Linked DNA regions of Homo sapiens: region 1 is linked to region 2. Evidence: promoter capture Hi-C in 16 types of primary human blood cells and fetal thymus (Javierre and others, 2016). All regions are on one chromosome and are shown on one strand. The core of a region is centred on a gene start or on the middle of the fragment in contact, and the rest is flanking DNA. Distances in the headings are between cores, read along the strand shown.

The links. Contacts are between HindIII fragments. The CHiCAGO score rates a contact against its expected background, and 5 or more counts as called.
Region 1: a contact is called between a fragment that was not itself captured here and the fragment with the promoter of STAU2 in region 2, in 11 of 17 cell types (neutrophils, naive CD8 T cells, non-activated CD4 T cells and 8 more). The highest score is 11.8, in neutrophils.

Annotation. Positions count from the first base shown.
Region 1 is chr8:73,881,736-73,884,435 of GRCh38, forward strand. It overlaps LINC01617 (long intergenic non-protein coding RNA 1617), which reads left to right. Exons shown (of 3, transcript NR_147034.1): 2 at 292-427; 3 at 595-1,339. Among named protein-coding and RNA genes, the nearest start is that of LINC01617, 4.1 kb to the left of the region's middle. The HindIII fragment of the contact is 855 bases long and covers 846-1,700 here.
Region 2 is chr8:73,745,588-73,748,287 of GRCh38, forward strand. It overlaps STAU2 (staufen double-stranded RNA binding protein 2), which reads right to left and starts at 1,253. Exons shown (of 15, transcript NM_001164380.2): 1 at 1,196-1,253. RefSeq lists silencers at 656-715, 826-1,005, 1,296-1,385, 1,466-1,755. The HindIII fragment of the contact is 14,890 bases long and covers 1-2,700 here.

The DNA.
Region 1 (2,700 bases), core at 23-2,522, 140 kb after region 2:
TTTCATCATGTTGCCCAGGCTGGTCTCGAACTCCTGGCCTCAAGTGATCCACCTGCCTTGGCCTTCCAAAGTGCTGGCATTACAGGGATTACAGGCCATGCTTGGCCACGTAAGAGTACATTGAACAAATGCATATGTTAACATTGTTTGGATCTAGATTCAAACAAACTGTAAAAGAGATATTTTTGAGACACCTGGAGAAAATTAAATATAGAGTAGATATTAGAGGATATTAAGGAATTATTATTTTTGTTAGATTTGATAATGATGTTCACTTTTTCATTTCCACAGCTATTAGAAATGTCCATCAGCTTACGAGGAGATTCTCCCTCATCTCACAAACTACCTGCATCTCCACTTCCCTGGAAGAAAAAAAAAATCTGGACATACCCAAGCTGTGTATGTGCCTGAGATCTTCCCTTCCAAGGTAAAGAGAGAGCCTGAGACAGGTCTAAATTAGCATCTGGACTTTCTGCTAGTAAAGAAAAGGAAATATGGGAAACTAAATAGTAACATTAAAGGACCCACAAAGGGACTACTGGGTAAGTGCTATAATGGATAATGTAATGTGATTTATGAATGCTTTTGTTCTAGTGATTTATTAAACTGGGAAGTCAGAAGCAGTCCTGTGAACATTTGTTTGTTGAAGCATGAAAAGGCAGAATTGATGAGTCCTTGCTTGAGTCTATGCCTCCACCCAGTAGTTTGTTCTTAGTCTCCTAGGGGCTGATCTCAGCAGAGAAATGGAGACAGTTCAGTCACCAACAGTTTGTTACTGGATTTTGGAAAAGGTACCAAAGTAAGAATCCAAGGCTTGTATTCTTATCTTAGCTCTGTGATTAACAAGCTTAGGTAAGGCTTCTAATCTTTCTGGGTTTCTTTCCTTATCAATAAAATGCGCAAGTCAGACTGCATAATCTTTATGGTTTCTTCCAAATTTCAAATTCCATGCATCTATTAAAGAGAATCAAAATTGTGCATGATTTGTCTAAAATACCATGTTAAAAAGTCTAAGATAAAATGAAATGGGAATTACATACCATTTTGAGTTTAAAAATCACTTTTGTAAATATATTAAGGAATGAACTTGGTTTTATTGCAATTTATGTAGAAATACTGGGAAGTAGAGGGGGCTTTGATTAACAATTTTAAAATGCTGATGCAATCCAGTCGAAATATAGATGGGATTTCATAAAGTAGCAAAAATTCTATATTCATAATTCAGAGTGATAACAAATGCATATCTATAAAGCAAAAGTGTGTTTTTAAAAGTAATTTTAAATCCCAGTCATTTCATTTAAGTCTTCTAATAAAGGATGAAGAAGATGAACAAAATAACAATGGTTTGTAAGTGTGACTTATTTTGAGTGTGACTTATTCTACGTGTCAAAAATAGTTGATTTATATACACATATAGTTTGCAAAGAAAACTGTGAATCAGGAAAACTTTTACTTTATTCCCCATCTTTGCCCTTCTCTAGCAAGAGTTCTTTTACCCATGTCTGCAGCCCTTGATATTCCCTGTTTATTTCTCACCTAAACCTCTTACCAAACATGTTCATAGCAAGCCGTTACTTGAAAAGACTGTGGTTCCTTTTTATTTATTTATTTTTGCCATGGATCTCATTAAAAATCAAATGAAAGCCATGGACCCACTCCACAGAAAAATACATATACCCATGAAAATTTGTATTTCAGGAAGCTTCCTGACCCTTAGAAGTTCATCCATCAGGGTCAGGCATGGTGGCTCATGCCTATAATTCCAGCATTCTGGGATGCTGAGGCAGGAGGATCGCTTATGCCCAGGAGTTTGAGACTAGCCTGGGCAACATAGCAAGACCCCATCTCTAAAAAAAAATTAGTTGGGCATGGTGGCATATGCCTACTACTTGGAAGGCTGAGCTGAGATGATCACTTGAGCCAAGGGCATCAAGGCTGCAGTGAACTGTGATCATGCTACTGTACTCCAGCCTAGGTAAGAGTGAGGCCCTGTCCCCTGACCCAAAAAAAAAAAAAAAAAAGTTTATCCATCAGATCAGCAGCATAGGTGTATAAACCTCAAGATAAGGCTGGGCTTGGTGGCTCACACCTGTAATCCCAGCACTTTGGGAGGCTGGGGGCGGGGGAGGGGGTGCAGATCACCTGAGGTCAGGAGGTCGAGACCAGCCTGGCCAACATGGTGAAACCCTGCCTCTACTAAAAATACCAAAAGTAGCCAGACATGGTGGCATGCACCTGTAATCCCAGCTACTAGGGTGGCTAAGGCAGGAGGATAGCTTGAAGCCGGGAGGCAGAGGTTACAGTGAGCCAAGATCACGCCACTGCACTCCAGCCTGGGTGACAGAGGGAGACTCTGTCTCAAAAAAAAGAAAAAAAAGAAAAAAGATAAGACCACTTTTCCTTTGTGTGGAAGCTGGATTTTAGGCCAGGCATGGTGGCTAACACCTGTAATTCCAGCACTTTGGGAGGCCGAGGCAGGCAGATCACTTGAGGTCAGGAGTTCGAGACCAGCCTGGGCAACACACTGAAACTCCATCTCTACTAAAATTACAAAAAATTAGCCAGGCATGGTGAGAGCACTTGTAATCCCAGCTACTCGGGAGGCTGAGACAGGAGAATGGCTTGAAACTAGGAGGCGGAGGTTGCAGTGAGCCAAGATGGTGCCACTGCACTCCAGCCTGGGTGACAGAGTGAGACTCC
Region 2 (2,700 bases), core at 3-2,502:
AATAAAAAACGTTTTCAATTAACAGTAAAATATCTTTAAAGGATCATCTCTAGCCTTTCTTTCTGCAGGATCCACCCACTTTAAAATCCTTTGGTAAATTCCCAGGTCTACCCTAATTGAATGGTCCCTCTCTATCTGCTCAAGCAGTTCTTAACCCTTTGGAGTGGGGATGGGGGTAAGGGGACATCACAGCAAATATGGACCCTTACCAAAGAAAATTATTCACAAATGCAAAATTCTACACACATTTCCAAAGACTTCCAGAATCCCACGGCCATTACCCCCACCGCCTCCCTAAGAATCCCAGAGTGGCGTGCTTCTCAATGGCCTCTGCGGAGCACCCCCAGCCCCCAAGCCACAGCCCCCGGCTCGACCCCGAAGAGACTAGAGTTCCTGCTCTCACACAGCGGATTCCGTAACTGAGCTTTGTCTCCTCGCCCAACTCCCTTCACCCCGGCAAGGTCACTACCGCCAACTACCCCTTTAAGCCGAGCCATCACGGTAGGAGTTCGTAACAGCCACAGCAGAACTTGCCTGTCATAGGATATATTTTGTCCCCTCGGCCCCACCTACCCTCCCCATTTCGGCAAGTTACGTCTTTACCACTAGCCCATTCTACAGAAATAGCTGCCGCCGCCACCCTCCGGCGCGCCCCGGCCCCGCCGCTCCGCCTCCAGCGCCCCCAGGCCCATTTCCCGCAGACCCTCCCCGGGCCGCCCTCCCCTGCCCTACTCTAGGCGCTCCCTCTCCCTCGCAGCCACACCGTGGCTGCACTCGCCGTCCTCTCTTCCGGCCGCTACCACCCCGGCCCCCTAGAACCCCAGCCTCCCGCGCCCGCAGCCGCGTTCCTGTCTCCCCGACCTCCGCACCCCCACTTGGCCCGGCCTCCTCGCCTTCCTCCCGGCTCCTCCCCTCAGGACACCTGTGTCGTCCCACCCCCTCCACCACACACGCACCCCCCACCCCAATTCCTTCGCCTCCCTGTCCTCCCTCCCCCGCCGGTCTCCCCTCCCCGCTGCTGCCCCGAGAGCCCGATGTGGGAGGGAAGGCGCGGGGGAGGGGAGGCCGCGAAGGGGGCTGCTTTTCTCCGGGTTCCCCGTGCTGCGGAACTGCAGGGCTCCCCAGCGCCCTCTGCCTTCTTCGCCGGCGGCGCGGAAGTCGGGGTCTCCCGGACGCCCCCGATGAGGGTATTTACCTTCTTGCCGGGGACACTTTGCAGACGGCTCCAACATTGGCAAACACTACAGAGAACTGACCCCGCTCGGCCGCCGCCGGCTTCCACCCCTCGGGCTCCCCGCCCCCCGCCTCCGCCCGCCTCCGCCCGCCTCCCCGGCGCTCCCGCCGCGCCCTCCCGCGCTCGCGCCGCGCGCCCCCGCCTGCGCAGCCGCTCCCGCGCCCCAGCACGCCCGGCCGGCGCGCGCGCCCGGCACCGGCTCTACCTCCACTCCGCCTCCCGCCGGCCCGCGACCAAGCGCGGCCATTGTTCGCGACGCAGCTCCCGCCCCCTGGCGGCTGCCGGGCCCCAGCAGCTGCAGGCTCTGCGGGGCTAGCGGCGGCGAGCTGGGCCCCTGGGCGAGGGCCATTCCCGGGGGGCTTGGGCACGCGGGCGAGCGACTGCGCAAGGAGCGCGCCCGGTCCGCAGTCTCCTCGTCCCCGGCGCGACTCCCCGCCCCCTCGTCTGCCAAGGGTGGGCCTGGGGCAGCCCCTTCCACACCTGCAACTCGGCAACTTCCTTCCCCGCCCGACTGACCGTCTGCTCTTTCTGGTCCGCACCCTGTGCTCTGATTCCCCGCTCGTACCTTTCCCAGGCTCTCCGGCTGCCCCTCTGTGCTGTGCAGGGGACGCGCGACCATCCCGCGTCTGCTCCGGCCGCCGCTGTGCAACGCACGGTTTAGCGGATCTTGCACCTTTCTAGACGGGGGAGGGGGCGGGGAGGAGGTTGCTTCACCGTCTCGCCCAGCAAACACCAGGGATCCGTGATCACCTGCTCGCCAAGACCCGCGGCGTGGCCAGACCTCCTCTTCTACCGAAAATATTAGTCACATGAAAAAGAATCCTTGGAGCCAAAAATGAGAACCATTGAAAACAATGCCCTGAATCCTAGATTTATGAGGCAAGAGTGCCAGAAAACAGAAATTACGTCTTAATTCGTCCTGGTTTTGATGTGGATTACTTTTGTCTAGATAACTTCAACCCAGTTAAGCTCAATGAAACTGAACACTTCGTTTAGTAACCGGCACCAAAAATAATCTGACAAAGAAATTTCGAAATAGAACTATTAGTGTGTTTTCACAAACTTACTCGTTTGCAACGTTATTTCTAGGGTTTCTTCCCAGTGTCACTTCTCTGACTGAGAAATGTCTCCCAGGCCGGTGATTTCAGTCATCATCTAAAACCAATCTCATGTCTGCACCTGGGAAGGTAGTGTGTGTCCTGGTTAACCGCAAGGGCGCCAGAGTCAGATAACCAAGGCTGGATATCCGCTTGCTAACTGGTGAGGAGACCACGGGCATGTTACTTATCCTGTGCATCAAGAGGAGACTACATGTGATAGATAGTTCGTATTTAAATGTGACAATACATATGAAGCCCTTTAAATAGGACCGGGTATGTAGTACCTCTCCTGGTACAATGTTAGCTACAGCTATATTTTTCCTCCCAGAACTCTTTCCTATGCTCCTTTCCCCCCTTTTCACCTCT